Linked DNA regions of Homo sapiens: regions 2, 3, 4, 5, 6 and 7 are each linked to region 1. Evidence: promoter capture Hi-C in 16 types of primary human blood cells and fetal thymus (Javierre and others, 2016). All regions are on one chromosome and are shown on one strand. Each heading gives the region's core, a stretch centred on a gene start or on the middle of the fragment in contact. The rest is flanking DNA. Distances are from core to core; before and after follow the strand shown. Region 1 holds the start of LARS2-AS1 (LARS2 antisense RNA 1). Region 2 holds the start of CLEC3B (C-type lectin domain family 3 member B). Region 3 has its middle 34 kb from the start of CLEC3B. Region 4 overlaps LOC124906233 (a long non-coding RNA gene). Region 5 has its middle 23 kb from the start of CCR9. Region 6 has its middle 23 kb from the start of CDCP1. Region 7 overlaps LZTFL1 (leucine zipper transcription factor like 1).

Evidence for each region. The method cuts DNA at HindIII sites, captures the fragments that hold promoters and counts their contacts. A CHiCAGO score of 5 or more calls a contact.
Region 2: a contact is called between a fragment that was not itself captured here and the fragment with the promoter of LARS2-AS1 in region 1, in 10 of 17 cell types (endothelial precursors, erythroblasts, M0 macrophages and 7 more). The highest score is 9.4, in endothelial precursors.
Region 3: a contact is called between a fragment that was not itself captured here and the fragment with the promoter of LARS2-AS1 in region 1, in 6 of 17 cell types (megakaryocytes, endothelial precursors, M1 macrophages and 3 more). The highest score is 12.4, in megakaryocytes.
Region 4: a contact is called between a fragment that was not itself captured here and the fragment with the promoter of LARS2-AS1 in region 1, in 2 of 17 cell types (M1 macrophages and endothelial precursors). The highest score is 5.5, in M1 macrophages.
Region 5: a contact is called between a fragment that was not itself captured here and the fragment with the promoter of LARS2-AS1 in region 1, in 1 of 17 cell types (endothelial precursors). The highest score is 6.8, in endothelial precursors.
Region 6: a contact is called between a fragment that was not itself captured here and the fragment with the promoter of LARS2-AS1 in region 1, in 2 of 17 cell types (megakaryocytes and erythroblasts). The highest score is 5.4, in megakaryocytes.
Region 7: a contact is called between a fragment that was not itself captured here and the fragment with the promoter of LARS2-AS1 in region 1, in 1 of 17 cell types (megakaryocytes). The highest score is 6.5, in megakaryocytes.

What each region holds. Positions count from the first base shown.
Region 1 is chr3:45,508,068-45,511,263 of GRCh38, reverse strand. It overlaps LARS2-AS1 (LARS2 antisense RNA 1), which reads left to right and starts at 1,719. Exons shown (of 4, transcript NR_048543.1): 1 at 1,719-1,907. All of the region lies in intron 15 of LARS2 (leucyl-tRNA synthetase 2, mitochondrial), which reads right to left. RefSeq lists a silencer at 1,353-1,647 and an enhancer at 2,474-3,196. The HindIII fragment of the contact is 1,698 bases long and covers 1,217-2,914 here.
Region 2 is chr3:45,023,651-45,026,846 of GRCh38, reverse strand. CLEC3B (C-type lectin domain family 3 member B) reads right to left here and starts at 544. Exons shown (of 3, transcript NM_003278.3): 1 at 376-544. The coding sequence starts at 484. RefSeq lists an enhancer at 1-164. The HindIII fragment of the contact is 1,257 bases long and covers 858-2,114 here.
Region 3 is chr3:45,058,665-45,061,860 of GRCh38, reverse strand. No RefSeq gene overlaps it. Among named protein-coding and RNA genes, the nearest start is that of CLEC3B, 34 kb to the right of the region's middle. The HindIII fragment of the contact is 8,779 bases long and covers 1-3,196 here.
Region 4 is chr3:45,075,854-45,079,049 of GRCh38, reverse strand. All of the region lies in intron 1 of LOC124906233 (a long non-coding RNA gene), which reads right to left. Among named protein-coding and RNA genes, the nearest start is that of CLEC3B, 51 kb to the right of the region's middle. The HindIII fragment of the contact is 4,633 bases long and covers 1-3,196 here.
Region 5 is chr3:45,908,194-45,911,389 of GRCh38, reverse strand. It overlaps a transcript of LZTFL1 not described here. Among named protein-coding and RNA genes, the nearest start is that of CCR9, 23 kb to the right of the region's middle. The HindIII fragment of the contact is 2,010 bases long and covers 453-2,462 here.
Region 6 is chr3:45,167,855-45,171,050 of GRCh38, reverse strand. No RefSeq gene overlaps it. Among named protein-coding and RNA genes, the nearest start is that of CDCP1, 23 kb to the right of the region's middle. RefSeq lists an enhancer at 2,911-3,196. The HindIII fragment of the contact is 2,845 bases long and covers 288-3,132 here.
Region 7 is chr3:45,833,310-45,836,505 of GRCh38, reverse strand. It overlaps LZTFL1 (leucine zipper transcription factor like 1), which reads left to right. Exons shown (of 10, transcript NM_020347.4): 3 at 722-916; 4 at 2,208-2,268. Among named protein-coding and RNA genes, the nearest start is that of LZTFL1, 7.2 kb to the left of the region's middle. The HindIII fragment of the contact is 276 bases long and covers 1,388-1,663 here.

The DNA of each region.
Region 1 (3,196 bases), core at 470-2,969:
ACACCAAGACCTGCTAGTTACATGAATATATCCTAATGTCTGAAAGCTTCCAACAATGAAACTTGACAGTTGAAGCTCTTCTGGACTGTCTTCTCTGAGGGTTGCAGTGCAGCAGGGGCCATCTCAGATGGATCATCTAGAGCAGGGATGGCAAAACCTAGCCAACTATCCCCAGTGCCCTTGCCTACAACCACCCAGACACCATTCATCGACAGCAGCACTCCTGGTGCTCAGAACGAGTCTCTGAATTCTTCTTCGTACCATATAATCAGAAAGCACAGAGTTATTATGTGAAATGTATCACTTATTTCTTTGGTATTTCTTGAGTGCTTGCTATGTGCCTGGCACTGAGCTAGGCACTGGGGATATAATGTTGGGCAAAGCAATCTCTGCCCTTGGGGAGCCAGCCTGTTTACGATCACTGAACCAAACCAATGCCTGACAACTCTCAGAGCTGTGAGGGAGGAAAAGAAAGAGTGCAGTCATATTTGAAGAGCTCCTCCTCCCAATCAAGTCCAAATTCCTCCGCATAGCCATCCAGGACTTCTCCCTGTCCCCTGCCACTCCCTCTGCTCTTTCAAATGTTGCCTGCATGTGCTTCCACGTCTTTACTCACGCCATTTCCCAAACTGTTATCAAAACTCTAGTCCTCCTTCCTGGCTCAACTCAAATGCCATCTCCACTGAGAAGGTATCTCCTGGTCAGAATTAGAATTAGTTGTTTTTTCCTTCCTGATGCATCCTGTGTAGTGCCTGTAATTGTATCTAGCAGCTATTACATTTTATTGTGTATTTAGGTAAGCTGCTTGCCTGTCTTTCTCCTGTGAGGAGTAGGAGGATGATTTTTTTTTGAGACAGGGTCTTGTTCTGTCACCCAGGCTGGGGTGCAGTGGCACAATCACAGCTCACTGCAGCCTCAGTCTCCTGGGCTCAAGTGATATTCCCACCTTACCCCTGCAAGCAGCTGGGACCACAGGCGCGCACTACCACACCCAGCTAATTTTTTGTATTTTTGGTAGAGATGAAGTCTCACTATGTTGCCCAGGCTGGTCTTGAACTCCTGAGCTCAAGCAATCCTCCTGCCTCGGCCTCCCAAAATGCTGGGATTACAGGCATGAGCCACTGCTCCTGGCCTTGAAAATCCTTAAAGGCCACTCTCAGTCTCCAGTTCCTAACAGATGCTCAGTAATGTTAATTGCCTTGAACTCAATCAAGCTTGTTTCAGTGGATGAATAAACCTACCAGCAGCAGGGGTGGGGGATAATGTGAGTAGGACAAAGTGGAGGCAAGAGAGGAGGGAAGAAAGAAATGAGTGAAGTGGGGCACTGGATGCTATACTTTCCAGCTAGTGCCACCATCTTTTTGCAGGGAGGGGTGCATTGAAAGATCCCAAGCAGCTGAAGCAAGAGAATGAGAGCAGGGGAATGCCCCGATGAGTGCTCACATGGAATTTCCCAGTGGGGAAAGGGGCGCTTCCCAGCTCCTAGAATCCTGCTCATTCCCAAGTGTTTTCCCTCCACTTTTCCAGGGAGCCAGGGAATGGGCTATAGGGAGTTGGGAATCTGGTTTTCACTCTTGGCTGAAGCTGGCCATGTCTACTCTCATGCGTAGTTTAGCTCTGAATGAGTCACACTTGTTTATTCATTCAACATGTATTTACATGATAATTGGGTACACAGCACTAGGCAATTAATTGGAGAGCTTACAATAAGAACAGGCAGCCCAGGACATGCTCATAAATAACCATCAGCACTACAAGAAAGACGTACCAAATGTGATTTGGAGGCGCAAGGTGCACAGGAATGAAGGACAAAGGACATCAAGGGCCCTGCTGGACTTGGAACCCAGGCCTGCTGGAGCAGAGATCACATCACATTGCCAAGTTCATTATTCAGATTCACAATTGGGGTAATGTGTTTCCCTTTTGTTCACTCATTCATTCACTCAACAGATGGTACTTGGGAACAGACTTGCGTATGCAACTGAGTTATTCATTCATCATAGTGACTGTGCACAGCAGGGGCCTTTATAAGTGAGTGGAAAATCTGCAACTCTAAACCACTAACAAACCGTTCTGACTCAGGGACCATCAAACGCGGGAGTATTAGGCAGGGCCTCTGCCTTGAAGAAGGCCCTGGATTTCTGAGTCAGCTTTCTTCCTACTCCTTCGGTACATCCCTGGAGGTAGATCATGCTTGCTTGCACTGAAGCACAGCTATATGTAAGCACAGTGATGAAAACTGGGGGGAGATCTTCACAATTTCTTCATTAGTTTAGACTGCACTAACTCAGAAATTGCAACAACTGATAGCTGCTGGGCATTGAAGGCCACATTTGTCCCACTTGGAAGAAGGAAAGAAGGAAGGGAGGGAGGCAGGGAAAGAGGGGAGGAAAGGTAGGGAGGGAGGAGAGGGAGGAAGGGAGGGAAGGAAGGGAGTTGCTAATTATTAGGATAAACAAGGAAATTCAGAACATTGATTGATTGGCCATGTTAAGTGCTCTTAAAAAAATCACTATATACAAGGAATGTGCTAATTACAGTATGAGCAAAGAATATCAGGATGTATCAGAGCCCCACCTTCTTGCTGCAGATGACATTTACCTATTCATGAAGCCCCAGAGAGCCTGCTGCCCACTCCCCTGACCTGGTGCGAGAGTGGCCTGCCAGGCTGCAGATCTTTGAAGGCCATAGATCTCTGAAAATGGTCTCCAAATTGGACTTTTCATTAAATCAGACTAAGTTTACCTTCCTCTTCTTCCTTGTTCTGTGCCCAGGGCCATCATGTCACATAATTAGCCTAGTTTCTAAGTATTAGCCATGGCTCATTCTTGAAATATCACCATTCCCATTTCCTAGCAGCCAGTTAGTGGCGCAGAAGGAGGGTTTACTAATACAGCAGGACCCAAGTAAAGCTTCTCTTCCCTTCCTGTTCCTTTTCCCAGTAGCCCCGTTTCTGGCATGATCAGAGTAACAGAGAAGAAAGCTCTGTGGATAGGGGCTTGCTGTGCTCTCCACGGTCAGCAGGCGGCCTGCCCTTCTCATGGGAGCTCCCTGAGCAGCTGCTTGCTTCTGACAGCCACCACTTTCTGTTGATTCCAAACTGAAGGGAGAAATTCAGTTTGGGGAATTTAGTGTCTAAGTTGCATTACAGAGCTACAACAAAAAGTGACAAGATTCCATGTTTACAGCGGTCTCC
Region 2 (3,196 bases), core at 237-2,736, 480 kb after region 1:
TACAGTTGAGAAAACAGGTTGGAAGACTCCAAAGCCCAGCCTGTGCAGCTCTCCCTGGTAAGGGCTGAGCGCTGCCAGACTCCCAGGCCAAAGGTTTGGTTTCTTTAAAATATTGGGGATGAGGGGAGGAGAGAAGAGCAAAGATCAGTTTGGATGATCTGGAAGGTTCTTCCCAACTCTAAGGGTCAGGGATTCTTATGATTCTGACAACCAACTCTGCTATGAGAGAACTCCCCCAAGCCCCAAAGCCCACTTTACTCAAGTTCCCTAGATGACTCAAAAGGAGGAAAATGAAGGAAAGGAGCATGAGGACACACTAAGGAGAGGGGGACCTGCTCCCTGGAAGATGGCACAGGGCTCTGTCCCCCTCCTTACCTTTCTTGGCATTTACAATCTTCTTGGGCTTCTGGGTTGGTGGCTCGGTGGTGACCTGGGTCAGGAGGGAGAAGAGGCAGAGGAGGAGGTAGGCCCCCCAGAGCTCCATGCTGCTGCGCGGGCGGGGGCTGCTGCTGCCTGCAGCGGGTCTGGGTCCGAACGCAGTGACAGCCACGGCCCAGGCTGCACGTCTTAAGGCAGCAGCCAAAGGACCTCTGTCCAGGAAACCCTCCCCAACTTGGCTGCAGGCGTGCCAAAAAAATAAAACAAACACACAAGCCTGCAGAAGGATGAAGTCCTGAGGGCCACAGAGCCTCTCTGCCAGGGAACACCCACGCAGCATCCTGGCCCTGCCTTCTAGAAAGAAGCCCTTATTTCCTAGGATTCTGAGAAACACACGGTGGTTGTCATCACATCTGCGGAGCAGCTACCTTGGGTAGGGGCTGAGGCTGGCTGTTCACTAACATTAACTCACAGAAGCTTCACACCCAAACCACGAGGGAAGCACTGTCCTTTCCCCATTTTACCATTGAGGAAATTGAGGCTCGGTGAGGTTAGGGAATTTGCCCAGGCTACCCAGCTGTCACGGGGTAGCAATGCCCCCTTATAGGGTGATCTGGGGCTGGCTGTCTGATTGGTTTAGAATATTTGTTATGATTATTTTGTGGCTCTGTCTCCATGTACTTGATGCATTTTTTGGTTAAAAAATCCAAGGGATTCCTTCCCTTCTTGTCTTCCCTTTCTCCTGAGTCCTGTCCTAAAGCCACAAAGTGGGGCATAGCAAAGGTGGCGGAGGGAGAAGCCATCGTGCCCCAGAGGTACCAGAGAGGATGTGGGGAGAATGTGCCCTCAAGGGGTGGACTGGTGTGGGGTGTGGGAGCCCAGCAGGGTGGAGGGAGCATCCTGGGGAAAGCAAAGGCCCTGCCTGGAGTGCTGGAGTCCAAGTGAGGCAAGGAGGGGATCCATGTGGGAGAGAGGCTGGTGGCAGAGACGGGAGATTGGTTACACACAGGGATACTGATCAAATAAATCTACTGAAGACAGTGGGAGTTAGGTTTCCTATTGTCAGAGAAGGAAGTTATGTATATGGAGAGAAAACTGGAATGAATCCTGTTGTGTGGGATTAAAATCGGAATGATCAGTGTACCCTTGTGGCCTTGAATACATAAAGATAAGTCCATATATATAGATGGAAATGTGTGTGTGTCTAGTCCCCACAGTCACTGGGGGGCCTGGAGCAGCCAGCCCCGCATAGCCTGGAGCACTCCTAGCACCTGAATACTGGCTTCTGAATATGACTTTCCACTAAAGGAACCAGAGCACCTTGCAGAAACGGCTGATTCTAGCACTGGGAAGTAGGAGTGGGGTGCAGAAAATGAGCCCGGAACTTGTTGTTTTGCCAGAAAACAAGGAAGTGCTTAATGAATAATGGGAACACGTCAGTAGGACACAGAGCCAGCTTGAAGGAGCCTTCAGTGGTCAGAATCAGGGACAATTTGAGCACCAACATAGTGACAGTAACAGATGGGAAACCACCAGTGCACACAGATATAAGTAAGTAAGGGAACGCATTGAAAGTCTGATGTTCTTCAATGGGATGTTTACATAGCCTCAAAGTATCTGCCCACAAAACACTTATCCATTCCAGAGAGAAAAAGAGCAACTTCATGGTGAAGAAGGCTGGCAGACATCACCTCATCTGTGACCAAAGTAAACATCAACAGGGCCAATAAAAAGCTTGCAGCACCTGGGGGGCTGCAGTGAGAATGTGGCATCACTCCATAGGACTCCGGCCAGAGAGACATCAGACAATCCCAAATGGAGGAGCATTCTGCAAAATGACTGCCAGTAATTTTCAAAGCTCCTGGCTGAGGAAGTGTTTCAGGCTGAAGGAGACTGAAGACACAGAACTAAATGCAATATGTGATTCTGGACTGGACCCTCCATTCTCAAGGATGCAGTTGGGACAACCAGAGAAATCTGATGGGGTCTGAGGAGCACACGGCAGTGATGTGTTGTCACATGCTGCATCATGACAGTTCAGTCAACAACAGGCCACATATGTGATATGCTTCCATAAGATTATAATGGGGCAGAAAAATTCCTAACACCTAGTGATGTCACAAAGGGTTGTAAAGTCATAGTGCAACTCATTATTCCCAAGTTTGTGGTGATGCTGGTGTAAACAAATTTACTGCCAGTCATATCGAAGTAGAGCATATAAGGTCATGTTAGCACATAATACTTGATTTTGTTAGTCCGTTTTCACACTACTCTAAAGAACTGCCCAAGACTGGGTAATTTAGAAAGGAAAGAGGTTTAATTGATTTACAGTTCCACACGGCTGGGGAGGCCTCAGGAAATTTACAATTGTGGCAGAAGGTGAAGGGGAAACAAACACCTTCTTCGCAAGGAGGCAGGAGGTACAATGAATGCAGGAGGAACTGCCAAACACTTATAAAACCATAAGATCTCATGAGAACTCACTATCACAAGGACAGCATGGGGGAAACCACCCCCATCGTTCAATGACCTCCACCTGGTCTCTCCCTTGACACATGGGCATTATGAGGATTACAATTCAAGATAAGAATTTGGGTGAGAACATAGTCAAACCATATCATTCTGCCCCACATGATTGTGCTTTGAAATGTGAGAGCATGAGATTTGGGAGGGGCCGGGGTGGAATGATATGGCTTGGCTGTGTCCCCACCCAAAATCTCACCTTGAATTGTAATCCTCATAATCCCCATGTGTCATGGGAAAGACCAGGTGGAGGTCATTGAACCATGGGGGCAAGTTTCTCCCATGCTGTTCTCGT
Region 3 (3,196 bases), core at 517-3,016, 450 kb after region 1:
TAAAAATACAAAAATTAGCCAGACATGATGCCACACTCCTGTAATCCCAGCTACTCAGGAGGCTGCAGCAGGAGACTAGCTTGAACCCAGGAAGCAGAGGTTGCAGTGAGCCAAGATCGCACCACTGCACTCCAGCCTAGGTGACAGAGCGAGACTGCATAGACAGAGCAGCCCCTAGGGCTGCTGGTTGCCCATTTTTTTGTGGTTATTTCTTGATGAAATTATAAACAAGGGGTAGATTATATATGCCTCCCCGTTTTAGATTATATATGGTAACTCCCTGACATTGCCATGGCATTTGTAAAATGTCATGGCACTGGTGAGAGCATAGCAGTGAGGATGACCAAAGTTCCCTCTCATCACCATCTTGGTTTTGGTGGGTTTTAGCTGGCTCCTTTACTGCAAACTGTTTTATCAGCAAGGTCTTTATGACCTGCATCATGTGCCAACCTGTCAAATTCTGTGACTTAGAATGCCTTAGCCATCTAGAAATGTAGCCTCATTTTGTAGGTCTCAGCCTCATTTTACCCAGCCCCTATTCAAGATGGAGTCACTCTGGTTCAAATGCCTCTGATATAGTGAATTGGGGTACCAAGTTTTTATTTTCCTTTCACAAAACACTGCAAATATTTTCCTTTCACAAAATACTGCTGGAAGCCTCTTCCACACCACCTCCAGGTGATTCTGGGGCTCCCATCCTCTACCCGACACTCAGACCTTGGTATCCCCAGGCCTTGATACCCCCATCCTCAGGGGCTGACAACCAGCCCTGGGAGAAGAGGTGCTGGGCTCCCTCCATCTGGAAAGAGGAGTCCTGGCACCAGCTGGTGAAATGATTTCAGGCCCTTTCCCAGCCTCTTCACATTGCCCAGGACTTTCCTATCTGACCCCTCCAGGATCCAGACTGGAGATGCAAGAAACCACTCTGACTAGGGACTGGGGTCTAGGGACTGGGGTTGTGAGGGGTCCAGCTGCTCCTTCGAATTCAGGGAGAGAAACCCAGCATGTGAGAGGGACTACTCAGAAAATTCTTTTGTGGTTGCTATGTCATTTGAGGGGAAAAAATATTTTTAGCCAAAATCCACATCCATGGCTCTGCAGGAGAAAAGTAAAGAAGCACTCTGCCACAGACGAGAATTCAGTCTGCACTGTGGACCCTGGGCTGGCTCACTGGCTCTCAGGATACCAGCAGGGGCCAATTTCATTCTTGATTCCTTTCTTTTCACAAAACACTAATTAGTTGGCTGCCTGACACCCACAGCGTTCCCTGAGCTTGTTTGCAGTCCTAGCAGTGGCAAGATTATTTTATATTCCTGGGTTAAGTCTTTTCCCCTACCTTCCACCTAAGGGACTGCCCCCCCTACCCCTCTATTAAGACTTCCACCCCCCACCCCACCCCATGCCCACCCCTGGTAGCTGCAGCCACCATGAGGCCAGCCTGCAGGCTTGGTTTCATGGGTCTTTGATCTCAATGGGATCAATAGTGTGGGTCAATACCTTCTCTTTTGATTTGCAAAGCACTTTCACAAGCACTCTTTTACCCCAATCATCACTGTGCTGGGCACACAACAACTCAATAAATTCTGAATTGAATCGGTCCTTATAACCACCCAGTGAGGCAAGTGCAGCAGAACTGATTATTTTCCTCCTCCTCTCTCTCTCACACTTTCTCTTTCTTTCTTTTCTTTCTTTCTTTCCTCTTTCTTTCTTTCTTCTTTCTTTCTTTTTTGATCCATTATAAGGAAATCCAAAGAATGTGTGATTCTGACACTAAGGCCACACAGCAAGAAAGTGGCAAACTGATGGGAGAAGTCCAGCCTCCTGCTGCCCGGTGTGAGGGAAGGGGGCCCTTCTGCTATACCCATGTGACTCCAAGGTGTGTTCTGTGGCTGCTGATCTCTCTTTTTTTTTTTTCTTTCTTTTTTTTTTTTTTTTTGTGAGACGGAGTCTCACTCTGTCACTCAGGCTGGAGTGCAGTGGTGCGATCTTGGCTCACTGCAACCTCCACCTCCTGGGTTCAAGTGATTCTCCTGCCTCAGCCTCCCAAGTAGCTGGGATTACAGGCACCATGTCTGGCTAATTTTTGTATTTTTCATAGAGACAGGGTTTCACCATGTTGGCCAGGCTGGTCTCGAGCTCCTGACCTCAAGTGATCCGCCCACCTCGGCCTCCCAAAGTGCTGGGATTACAGGCGTGAGCCACCGAGCCCGGCCTGATCTCTTGATCAGTATTTCAGTGCTCCTGGTGGCATAGGCCCTTCAGAGCCAGCGCAGGTGCTCTCCCAGGACTTTGGTGTAGGGATTCATGTGATCTAAGATCCCGCCTGTTTCCTTTCTTTTGCTCAGATGTTTTTCTGTAAGTAAAGTCACTAATGGGCCAAAAAGCATAATTTAAAATTGCCAAAGGAAAACAAATCAGTCTTTTTACTCTGAGAGCCCCTCTGGGAAAGCCAAACATTCCTAATAAATGATTCTTTCTATTCCAGAAAGACACCAAAAAGGGAACTGCAAAAATAACTCATTCATCAAAATAGTAGTTTGGCAGATAGTTCTGCGATATCACCAACACCCCCTCTCCAGGTTACTGAGAAATCTGGGGACAAAGAGAACTTAGATAGCAGTGGTGCCATCAGCTGCAACAGTTTAACTGGCCATGAAGGAGCCACTTGTCCCTTTGGTCTAAGCAGGTTTGGCTATTATTTTGCGGGAGTATGGTTAATCATATTAAGAAAAATTATCCAGAACTTGAAAGTTAGACAAAATGATGACTAAAAGTTATCTCCGAGTCTCCTTGAGCACTGTCCTAACAATCACCTGAGGGCCAGTTAACACCCTGGGGAAATGAAACTTTTGGTTGACTTACAATTGATTGGGACCTAGACTCTAAGAGCATGTGTTCATTTGTAGACAATTTGATAAGTTGCTATGATGATTAATTTTATGTGTTAACCTGACTAAGCCATGGGGTGCTCAGATATTTGACTAGACATTATTTCTGGCTGTGAGGGTGTTTCCAGGAGACTAATATTTGAGTCCATAGACTGAGTAAAGCAGATGGCCCTCCCAGTGTGGGTGGGCCTCATCCAACCCATTAAATTTCTGAGTAGAATAAAAGGTTAAGTAAGAAAGAATTCTGTCTCTCTCTGCCTGTCTTTGAGCTGGAACATTGATGTTCTGCCTTCAGACTCAGATTCAGA
Region 4 (3,196 bases), core at 246-2,745, 430 kb after region 1:
TGGCCAATTCTCTCCTAGCCTCAGGCTTCATAAGAACAATTTTTTTTTTTTTTTGAGACAGAGTCTCGCTCTATTGCCCAGGCTGAAGTGCAGTGGCATGATCTTGGCTCACTGCAACCTCCACCTCCCAGGTTCAAGCGATTCTCATGCCTCAGCCTCCTGAATGGCTGGGATTACAGGTGTGCCCCACCACGCCTGGCTAATTTTTGTATTTTTAGTAGAGGCAGGCTTCACCATGGCCAGGCTCAAACTCCTGACCTCAGGTGAGTCTGCCTGCCTTCACCCAGCAAAGTGCTGGGATTACAGGCATGAGCCCCTGTACCCAGCCTTAAGAACCTCCTAATGATCCCATGAGTTATATGGATGAACCAGCACGGCCTCTTCTCTGCCCTTTAATGTAGGTGTATTAGTCCGTTTTCATGCTGCTGATAAAGACATACCTGAGACTGGGAAGAAAAAGAGGTATAGTTGGACTTGCAGTTCCACATGGCTGGGGAGGCCTCAGAATCATGGTGGAAGGTTAAAGGCACTTCTTACATGGCAGTGGCAACAGAAAAATGATGAAGATGCAAAAGCAGAAACCCCTGACAAAACCATCAGGTCTTGTAAGACTTACTCACTACCATGGGAACAGTATAGGGAAAACTGCCCCCATGATTCAAATTATCTCCCACCAGGTCCCTCCCACAACATGTGGGAATTATGGGAGTACAATTCAAAATGAGATCTAGGTGGGGACACAGAGCCAAACCATATCATCCCACCCCTGGCCCCTCCAAATCTCATGTCCTCACATTTCAAAACCAATCATGCCTTCCCAACAGTCCCCCAAAGTCTTAACTCATTTCAGCATTAACCCAAAAGTCCACAGTCCAAAGTCTCATCTGAGACAAGGCAAGTCTCTTCCACCTATGAGCCTGTAAAATCAAAAGCAAGCTAGTTACTTCCTAGACACAATGGGGGTACAGGTATTGAGTAAATACAGCCATTTCAAATGGGAGAAATTTGTCAAAACAAAGGGATTATAGGCCCCATGCAAGCCTGAAATCCAGTGGGGCAGTCAAATCTTAAAGCTCCAAAATGATCTTCTTTGACTCCATGTCTCACATCCAGGTCATGCTGAAACAAGAGGCGGGTTCCCATGGTCTTGGACAGCTCTGCCCCTGTGGCTTTGCAGGATACAGCCTCCCTCCTGGCTGCTTTCATGGGCGAGCGTTGAGTCTGCGGTCTGCGGCTTTTCCAGGTGCACAGTGCAAGCTGTCAGTGGGTCTACCATTTTGGGGTCTGGAGGACAGTGGCCCTCTTCTCACAGCTCCACTAGGCAGTGCCCCAGTAGGGACTCTCTGTGGGGGCTCCAACCCCACATTTCCCTTCTGCACTGCTCTAGCAGAGGTTCTCCATGAGAGCCCCGCCCCTGCAGCAAACTTCTGCCTGCACAGCCAGGCGTTTCCATACATCCTCTGAAATCTAGGCTGAGGTTCCCAAACCTCAGTTCTTCACTTCTGTGCACTTGCAGGCTCAACACCATGTGGAAGCTGCCAAGCCCTGGGACTTGCACCCTTTGAAGCCACAGCCCACGCTCTACATTGGCCCCTTTCAGCCATAGCTGAAGTGGCTGGGATGCAGGGCACCAAGTCCCTAGACTGCACACAGCACAGGTACCCTGGGCCTGGCCCTCAAAACCATTTTTTTCCTCCTAGGCCTCTGGGCCTGTGATGGGAGGGGCTGCCATGAAGACCTTTGATATGCCCTGGAGACATTTCCCCATTGTCTTGGGGATTAACATTCGGCTCCTCATTACTTATGCAAATTTCTGCAGCTTTCATGAATTTCTCCTCAGAAAATAGATTTTTCTTTTATACTGCATTTTCAGGCTGCAAACTTTCCAAACTTTTATGTTCTGCTTCCTTATTAAAACTGAATGCCTTAAATAGCACCCAAGTCACCTCTTGAATGCTTTGCTGCTTAGACATTTCTTCCACAGATACCCTAAATCACCTCTCTCAAGTTCAAAATTCCACAAATCTCTACAGCAGGGGCAAAATGCCACCAGTCACTTTGCTAAAACATAACAAGAGTCATCTTTGCTCCACTTCCCAACAAGTTCCTCATCTCCATCTGAGACTACCTCAGCCTGGACTTTATTGTCCATATTGCTATCAGCATTTTGGGCAAAGGCATTCAACAAGTCTCTAGAAAGTACCAAACTTTCCCACATTTTCTTGTCTTTTTTTGAGCCCTCCAAACTGTTCCAACCTCTGCCTGTTACCCAGTTCCAAAGTTGCTTCCACATTTTTGGGTATCTTTTCAGAGGCACCCCTTCTGCTGGTACCAAGTTACTGTATTAGTCCATTTTCATGCTGCTGATAAAGACATACCCGAGACTGGGAAGAAAAAGAGGTTTAATTGGACTTACAGTTCTGCATGGCTGGGGAGGCCTCAGAATCATGGTGGGAGGCAAAAGGCTCTTCTTAACATGGTGGTGGCAAGAGAAAAATGAGGAAGATGCAAAAGCAGAACCCCCTGATAAAACCATCAGATCTCATGAGACTTATTCACTACCATGCGAACAGTATGGGGGAAACCACCCTCATGATTTAAATTATCTCCCACCAAGTCCCTCCCACAACACGTGGGAATTATGGGAGTACAATTCAAGATGAGATCTGGTGGGGACACGAGCTAAACCATGTCAGTAGGGACACAGATCTAAACCATGTCAGTAGGTAACTGCAAGAGCTAGACTATGGTCATTTGAGACCCAGCCAACAAACAAGCCTAGGAAAAGATTAGCTATAGTCTACAGGACTCAGAAAGAGGGAAGATCTGAAACTGATGTAAGAAAAGAGCTCCCCACCCCAGCCTTCTGCCCAGGCCAGCAGCAGTGCAGCAGCAGCAAACGCTCTCGCCTTTGTTCCCTCTCCCATTTTCAACACTCTGACTGCCCAGCCCGCATCCTCAAGACCCAGGAGGCAGCTTCGTGGTCATGTAACCTACGCGTTACACAGAGCCTGCAACTCGGAAGGGCCCCACACTTGGTCTCTGCTGTTGCCAGCTCAAAATTCTTAATAATTTTTGAACAAGGGACCCAGTGTTTTTATTTTGCCCTGGGCTCTGGCAAATTAAGTAGCCAGGCCTTTTCAGAGGATGAGGCAGTCTCTGAGAGGTTAAACAACCTGTCTGGGGCTTCACAACT
Region 5 (3,196 bases), core at 208-2,707, 400 kb before region 1:
CACACCTTGTCCAATCCCTTTTACTCTCTTGGCTCTTTTGATTACTTCTGGGCATTAGTCAGCTAGTCAAGTTGGGGGACCGAGTGATTGGGATCATTGAAAGATGAGTTAATTTACAGAGTAGCCACCTTTGGTGATTTTAAAATATGGCCCTAGAGTTATTTGACACCCTTCCAATAAGAGGTGGAGTCTCGAGTCCCTTGACTCCGGGCTGGCCTCTGGCTGCTCTGACCAGTGGAAGAGCAGAGGGACACTGTGTGGCTTCCGGTGCCATGTCAGAAAAGGACCTGCAACTTCCCCTTGGTTCTCTTGCACAGGGGAAGCCAGCTGCCATGTAAAAGGTCTGAGTACCTTGAGCCCTCCCTGCTGAAGCTGCCGTGTGCTGGGGCCCTGCATGGCAGCCAGCATCAACTACTGGCCCTAAGCCAGTAGTTAAGCTTTCCAGTTAAGCTTTCCAGTGGCCACAGCCCCAGCCAATATCTAACTGCAGCCACATGAGAGACCCCAAGCTAAATATGCCCTGCTGAGCCCCTTCCAAATTCCCGGCTCACAAAATGGCGAATAAAATAAAATGGTTATTGTTTTTATACCACTAAATTTTGTGGCAACAGTTACCAGGACACAGCTGAATTGAATACAAGCAAGGTTCTTAGAATCACTTCTTTCATTTAATTGCAAATGAACCCAAAAGAGATCCATTTACATTTTTTTGTTGTTTTATTGGATTACTCCTGATACTTTATCATAGCAAACCTGACACAAGTTTCACCTACACATCCTCTTTCCACATCCTCACTTCCCATTGATTTGCTCCTCAGCCAATCACAGTCTGCCTTGTTGATGCCTGGGAAGCTGCTCCTAGCCAGGTCGCTGCCAGCCTCCACTCTCTCTTGACCTCAGCTCTTCCCATGCTCATGGCTACCATCTTCCGGGTAGCATCCCCAGACTTGCTCTCTGCTGATCCTCCCCTCCCAGGGGCAGCACCACCAACCACCCAAACGTGCAGATTCAAAACCCAAGTCATCCTTGATGCCTTCCTTTCTTTCAATTCTAATCTTCACCATTGTGTCTACCCCCAGAGTAAGTCAAAAGCCATCCATCTCTCTACACCACAACCACCACCGTCACTCCAACTCCGCCACCACCATCTTTTTCCTGAACAACTGCAACAGCTCCTGACTGGCATCCCTGCTTCCTTGCACCACCCCTAACCCCCAGCCACCACCCTTCTTCTCCTGGGGGCTTTAGAGATCTTTAAAACATGAATTGGATCATGCCACACCCCACTTAAAAATCTTCCTGAAGTGGAATAAATCAAAATTCATCATCTGCGCCTGAACAGTGCCCCTACCTTCCTCTCCTCTCTGACTTCCCTCTCACTCATAACCCTCCAATCACCAATGGCTCTTCTTTTAGCCACTTAACTCTGCTGATCACTTTCCTGTCTCAGAGCCACCTGTGAGAATTAGGGGTGATGGTCCCACCTTGTCTCAGGCAACATCAGTTTTCCTGTGGTCCTTAGAAACTTCCTGGTTTCCAAAAGTTGAACAAGAGAAACCCTGGAGCTCACTGCGGCCTTTATCAGCCTCTGTAGAGCATTCTGAGCCACCTGGAGATTACCCCCCTGAGAAAGTGCCACCCACGGCGTGAGGCCTTTCCGAGCTTGCTGCTCTATCCCCAGGGGACTCCGTCCCTCCTTCGGTTCCTTTGTTGAGTGGTGGCCTAACCACACAGAGGAAGAGTCCATCCAGTCTCCATTTCTTATTTTAATGTTTTAAAATTGTGATTTGGGGCTTTATAAGGATAAGAGCATGAGTTTTTAAGGGAATTGCATGATGTCTTGGATTTTCTTTAAAATACTACAGCAAACTTGTTTTTAAAAGGAAGAAGGTAAGGAAGGAAAAAGAAGGAAGGGAGCAGATGAAACAAAGAAGAGGAAAGGAAAGAAAAGTGGGAAGTGTAGCTGAAACCAAAAATGGACAGAATGTTAATCATTATTGAAGTTGGGTGAGGGGTATGTGCATCTTCATTATACCAGCGGTCCCCAACCTTTTTGACACCAGGGACCAGTTTTGTGGAAGACAGTTTTTCCATGGACCTGCAGCATTGGTGGAGAGGTGATTTTGGGATGATTCAAGCATGTTACATCTATTGTGCACTTTATTTAATTATTATTACATTGTAATGTATAATGAGATAATTATACAACTCGCCATAATGTAGAATCAGTGGGAAGCCTGAGCTTGTTTTCCTGCAACTAGACGATCTCATCGGGGTAATGGGAGACAGTGACAGATCACCAGGCATTAGATTCTCATAGGGAGTGCACAGTCTAGATCCTTTGCATGTTCACAATAGGTTTGTGCTCCTGTAAGAATCTAATGCCGCCACTGATATGACAGTTGGCGAAGCTCAGGCGGTGATGCAGGCGATGGGGAGCAGCTATAAATACAGACGAAGCTTCACTCACTTGCCTGCCACTCACCTCCTCCTGTGCAGCCTGGTTCCTAACAGGCCACAGAGCAGTAGTGGTCTGTGGCCCAGGGGTTGGGGACCCCTGCATTAATACTATTCCCTCTGCTTTTGTGTATGTTTTTAAATTTCTGTAATTAAAAAGTTTAAAAAGAAAAGAACATGAGTGGAGAAGTCCTAAACCAATTGCATGCATGGACACTTCACCAGAGAGTTGACAGTGATGTCCCACAGGCATGAGTGGTGCGGGGCCTTGGCACACACCGCCCTCCTCCCCTTTCTCCCCTGCTTCCTGTAGGTCATTCCTGTCCATTCTTCAGCTCTCAGCTCAAACGCTACCTCCTCAGGGACGCCTTCCCTGGCTCCCCTTTCCAGAGCAGATCAGAGTCCCCTGTCACACTCTCTAGCTTCCTGTACTGATAACCATCAGCTTGTTCCTGTGATGGTGTGACTTGGGTCTGTGATTGTGAGTTTCATGAGCACCACGCCTGTGTCTGCCGTTGCTCACCACCTTGCCCAGTGCTTAGCATGTACTAAATGCTCAATAAATGTTGAATGAGGCTAATTACAGCAACAGTTGAAATGCTGGGCCTACTTGTGGCCTCTCCAGCACGGTGGTCTCAGGGTGGGCAGCCTTCTGACACGGCAGCTTAGGGTTTCCAGAGCAAGCCTCCCACGGCACAGGATGTGGAAGCTGCCAGCCTCTTCTTCTGAGTCTGCACCC
Region 6 (3,196 bases), core at 461-2,960, 340 kb after region 1:
AGATCACATCACTGCACTCCAGCCTGGGTGTCATAGTGAGACTCTGTCTCAAAAAACAAAAAACAAAACAAAACAAAAAAACAGAAAGTAGGGAGAAGCAGAGAGGGCGTCCCAGGCAGAGGAAACCACCTGAGCAAAGGCCTGGGGGTACCCCTGCTGGGAGACCGTGAGGGTACCTGTCTGATTAAACGATGGGTTTGACATTATGCTGCAGTGGGGGAAAGGCTGGGTAGGGAAACTGGGGACAGAATGTAGACAGTAAACTTGACCTAGTCAACTCACAAGCTTGTGGGCAGCTGGAGGCAGAAAATGATTGACTTCTCCAAACATTTTGTGTTTCTGAGTGACTTAATGGGAAGGAAGTGGGTTCATTCCAATCTATCTTCTGCACCCAGATCTGTACCAATCCAGAAGGCAACTTGACCCAACCAGCAATTTTGCCTAATATTCTGTTCAGGGCTCTATGTTAGGTACAAAGAAGAGGCGTACAACAAAGGCCAACAGTGGGGGTTGAAGACCTGTCTGCAACATTCCTCCTAGGAAATGGTAGAGTCTCATTCCCCTTCCCTTGACTATGAGTCCCTTTTAGTGACTCGATTCTAACCAATGAAACACAGGGGAGTGACATTGTGTGACTTCTGAGGCTAGGTCATAAGAGAAAATACAGCTTCCTCCTGTCTGATGTGTTCTCTCTCTCTTCCTTTCTCTCTCTTGGAGCCCAGCCACCATGCTGTGAAGAAGCCCAGGCCATAAAGGGAGGAACACTCGTGGGTGTTCCAGCCAGCAGTGCCAGCTAAGGTCCCAGCTGGCAGCCAGCACCAGTCACCAGCCATTAGTGAGCAAGCCTCGGAAGATTCCTGCCCCAGCCTTCTGGCTGCCCTAGCTGATACCACAGAGGCAAGCAAAATAAAGCCCCTAGGTTTTGGAATGTTTATTATGCAGCATGAAGTAACTGGAGCACAAATACACAGAGCCAGGCTCTAACCCAGCCCGGGACAACTGGGAACCAAGCACGGTATATGGAACATCCTAAACATTCCTCAGCTGACAGGTGTATATTCCGCTGTTTTCAGATGGAACAAAATCAGTTCTGAGCTGTGGCACCGAGCTGTAGACCCACATATAAACGATGTGCCATCCAGGTGGGGGAAATGAAGGAAGGCCTCAGAGGGGAAGCCGTTTTGACCACACTGTGGAGGATGAGGAAGACAATTTCAAGAGAAAAGGGCAATGCAAATCACAGACACTGTGAGCTGGACACTGTGGCCTCAGGGCGCTCTGGTCAATCCCTGCATCCTCTGTTAAAGATTGGCAGTACTGACCCCTGCACTCAGGCTTCCTATGTCCTACTGGGCATGTCCCCTCTTCAGGTCACCTAGAGGCTGCCCTCAGCTCTCCTCTCCCTGACCTTTAGGGTAGGAGGGATTTGACAGAATTTGATGTTCGTCCACCAGAGGTGGTCTGTTGACTGTTGAGTGATTTCCACAGAACTGTGTATTTTGCATTCCTTATCTTTCCATTCCCCACCTAGACCCCTGCAAGGCCCCGCAATTTCTTTTCACCCACTCACTGCTTCGTTAGTGCTGGAGTTAGTCAGATCTCATCAGTCCCTCCTCGATGGCTCCTTCCCTCTTGTTCCACTGCTGACAAAGGGGCTTGCTCTCCACCAGCCTTCCCTGTTGGACTCTGTGCTTTGGAACCAAGTAATTGTTCCATTACTCATTACGTTTTACAGTTATAAATGCAAGACAAGTCCATTACAGAAAATGCTGAATCAAGAAAAGAAACTACACACAATCTCATCACCCTGCCCCGCCATCAATAACCATTCATCTCGTCTTCTTTGAGGATTTTTTTTTCAACACCTATAGCGTTTTTAAAATCCTGTTATAGCCGGGCACGGTGGCTCACACCTGTAATCCCAGCACTTTGGGAGGCCGAGGCAGGCAGATCACCTGAGGTCAGGAGTTCGAGACCAGCCTGGCCAACATGGCAAAACCCCATCTCTACTAAAAATACAAAAACCAGACATGGTGGCTTACCCCTCTAATCCCAGCTACTCGGGAGGCTGAGACAGGAGAATTACTTGAACCCAGGAGGCAGAGGTTGCAGTGAGCCTACATGGCGCCACTGCACTCCAGCTTGGGTGACAGAGCAAGGCTCCATCTCAAAAAAATAAAAAATAAAAATAAATAAAAATAAACAAACCCTCTTATCATACTGCACATTCAATTGTGAATGCTGAGTTTTGTCTTTGGTGTCACAGTGCATGCTTTTTGTCATCATTTTCTTTCCTAATGAATACGTAGTGGTGTCAAGTGGCTGAACCTCGTTTTCTTTAACTATTTTTACAGTGTTTGGCATCTACGTGGTTTCCAGTTTTTCCCTGCAGTAAACATCTCCCTGCCTAGGGCTTTTTCTGAAAGCTGAACTACTTCCTCAGGACAGATTCCTAAGAGAAATGACTGGGTCAGAAGTTGTGGGTATATTAATGGCTCTGGATATAGACCACTTGTCAAATTATCTCAGCGACTTGTTTCTTTGAACTGTGATCTTGTAGTTAATGCTGTTGTTGTTCTGGAAGTATTAGATGACCACTGGAGAAAATTTGGAAACGTTGAGAGAAGTGAATAAAAATCAATCTCATTTCACCCATAAAATGATAATCATTATCAGTAACATGTTGGTGTCTTCCTCTCCAGTCTATTTTTCTTCATGTAAGTTTTAGGGTTTTTTTTTTTGTTTCAGTGCCTATATGAATTAGCATAATTATCATGGCACTCTAAATAAATTAGACTTCATAATTTTTCTTGAACATAACAGCTAAGCATTTTCCACTTTATTGCAAACTTCAAACAGTTTAAGATATTTTCCACTGAGTAGATGTATCCTCATTTACTTTCCCATTATCCTATTTGGGGACACTTACACTGATTCCAAATTTTTGCTCTTAAAAACATTTGCCAGGAATAAATCTTCAAGTTCTGACTTAAAAAGCAGTTTGTAAGTTGGGTAAACAGAAAAATGATGAAAACTTACAATAGAAGAGTTGACTAATTGGTCTTGATTGTGGAAAAGGCTAATTTCTAAGCTCCTTCCTAGATTCATGAATGGAATTTAAATAACTAAGCTTTTTTTTTGTTCGTTTACAATCAAAGCAAACCCAATGAAGATTACTGATTGGGAGCCCAGACAC
Region 7 (3,196 bases), core at 276-2,775, 330 kb before region 1:
TTTTTGTATTTTTAATAGAGAAGAGTTTTTGCTGTGTTGGCCAGATTGGTCTCGAACTCCTGACCTCAAGTGATCCACCTGCCTCTGCCTCCCAAAGTGCTGGGATTACAGGCATGAGCTACCATGCCTGGCCCTGAGAGTAGATTTCTAATGCTATTGTTGATGATGATATTCATTTTTGTGGAGTGTTCAGTAGAACTTTAAGATAAGCTAGTTTTTATTATTATTATTATTTTGGGTCTCAAGAATGCAAAGAGAAGCAATATATATAATTACCATTTATTTCCCATAGACGTTTACTAACCTGTGAATAGTTCATACAGTTATTAAAATGTTAGAGAAATATTAGAAAGAAATGAGACTATGCCTTCCGGGTGACTTTTGAAATTATTAAATGTAATAAGACTGATTTCAGTGGAGTTTGAAATAAGACATTTAATACTAAAAAGTTAAAAAAGTAGATGATGGTTTTGGGAATGTGTTTGAGCATTTACTTGTATTAAAGGATGTGCACAATTTAATCATTTGAATAGATGTCAAAAATTAATTGAGTTTAAATTATTTTCAATGTTTATTAATAAAGAAGATAGTTCCCAGAGAGATTTTCACTGTAATCTTTGAATTTCTTAGATTACATGAATGTGGGTTTCTTAATTTTGCTGTATTTTGTAGATTTTTCTTGTTGTTTTTCTATAAGTTTTGGATCATGGTTGTTTTTCAGGCTGGTGGAGGACACCTTCACCATAGATGAAGTCTCTGAAGTCCTCAATGGATTACAAGCTGTGGTTCATAGTGAGGTGGAATCTGAGCTCATCAACACTGCCTATACCAATGTGTTACTTCTGCGACAGCTGTTTGCACAAGCTGAGAAGTGGTATCTTAAGCTACAGACAGACATCTCTGAACTTGAAAACCGGTAATAAAATTTGAACTTGCAACTGTGACAATAATGGCCCAAGCATAATCTTAAAAGTTAGTGAACATCTTTGGCTGCATATTTTCTTGGGGCTAGTGTGTGAGGAAATTTGGGTAGGGTAACAGCAAAGCATTGAGTCACTGAGTGATCTCTTGGGTACCACTAAGCACCCTTTTAAAAGTTCTCTGTTTCTACTGTTCCTAGGTATTACAAAGGCCATCGAGATTTATGAAATTGCTTTTCAGGCTATCATTAATTATTTCTTACAGCATTTTTGTTAGCTTGGTCAGTATTACCATCAGTCTTTATAGATTGGTCAACTAAGAAATAGAGATTATGAGACAGTTGAAAAGTCAATTCAAATATAATAAATACCATCAATTCAATCCAGTAGCATTGGAAGTTTTCTAAATAATGGAATTTAAAAGTATACATTTATTAACTTTGAAATAGGAAATATACAAAAAAGCTTATAATATGGACATCTAAGAGCTCAAATTCAAAAAATATGGTAAAATTGGTGAAGTTGAAACTCATTTTAAGAAAAAGCATGCCAGAAATCAGGAAGGACTGACCGCCAAGCCCCGTGAACTACTCTAAGCACAGTCACAGCACATCAGTTCACATGCAGAGTGTTGAACAACGCTGAGGACAACCTATGAGCTGGGGAGGAAAATCATTGAACTTCTGCCACTGTCAGTAGATGACTGGTGAGAAAACTCTGAGAAGGTGGTGCTTTAAGAAGCTTAGAAGCTGACTGCTGTTAACACTCTAAGCTTGTGTGTAGTCACTTCTCATTGGCCTTTGCAAATCTTCAGATGGCACACCCCCACTATCTGTCTTTCCTAGGAATTTGTGGTACTCTTTTTCAGTAGATACTATGGACTATTTTCATTTTTCTGAGACTACTTTATTAAGAATCTTTTTTGAACACCTACTAGCTAACAATACACATTATGTAATAAAACAGTCTCCTCATAGCACCTCAAGAATACAAAGTTGACTATAAATTTTCCTCATATTTGTATTAACATTATGGTTTATTTCTAGCAGTAGATATTGCATACCTAGTAGATACAAAATGCCAGGTACTGTGGATGATTACATTTGAGTCCATGTGGTTTAGGTTCTCAACCATTTGCAACTAACATTTTTGATATGGTGAAGTTTGGTCCATCTTGCTCTGTTCTCTCTGGCATGTAATGGGTTGGTACCAGTGATTTTACTCTTCTTGCGTGTGATATAAATCTATTTTAAATGAATAATTTTTATCTTTGCTTTCTTCTTCAAGAGAATTATTAGAACAAGTTGCAGAATTTGAAAAAGCAGAGATTACATCTTCAAACAAAAAGGTAACTTTTTGGTCATTCTAAATCCATATCTTAATAGCCAGTATTTAAAATCCTCAAGTTGCTCAAAGAATTCAGAGATCAAAACTGAGAACTCTTAAGGAAAAGCATTCAATTCAAGAGTAAAATTCAGAAATTGTCTATCATATTTTCAGGCAAAAGAAAAAATGTTTTGGAAGTAACTGTGAAAAACTGCTTTTGTCTGTGATGGCTTACACATACACATGATCCCTAAGTTCAGTCTCAATCCCACTCATAAATACTCTACTCAGAAGATTCAGAGCGCAGGCTGTAGGGTCAGCCACACCTGGGTATACATCCTGGCTCTGTCACTTCCTGGCTGTGTTACCTTGAGCAGGTTATCTGAGGTAGCTGAGCTTCATTTTACTCATCTGACAAATGGAGACAATACTAGTAGTTATCTACCTCTCTTTCTAATCATTCTCATTAATTGGAGTGGCCACTTACCATTCCACTTCACGGGCACACCGTAAATACTCCATTGTTGGATAAATACTGCTGAGATGAATCTATGTACATACACATGCAAAATACTTTCCAGTTATTCCTTTGGGTCATATTTATGGCTAAGAAATTTCTGGATCAGAGGGCATGAATTATTTTATTTTTAATATATATTACTAAACTACTATATTATTTGTGCCAAGTTATTGTTTATCTGTATTATACTTGCCTAGATCTTCATCAATATTATTGTTTTTCACAGAGTCTAAGGTTCATGTAGAAATCACTGTTTCAGCTCCCACAGGCTAAAATTCTAGTTGCTAGATGCTAGGCTCTATATCAGATCTGGCTTTGAGCTCCTTCCGTCCCTCCTTTCTTCCCTCATTTTCCTTCTATCTATATATTTTTAAAAGATACAGGGAAGATAGGTTTTATTTTTGTCTCTAACATGTATGGGGCACTGTAG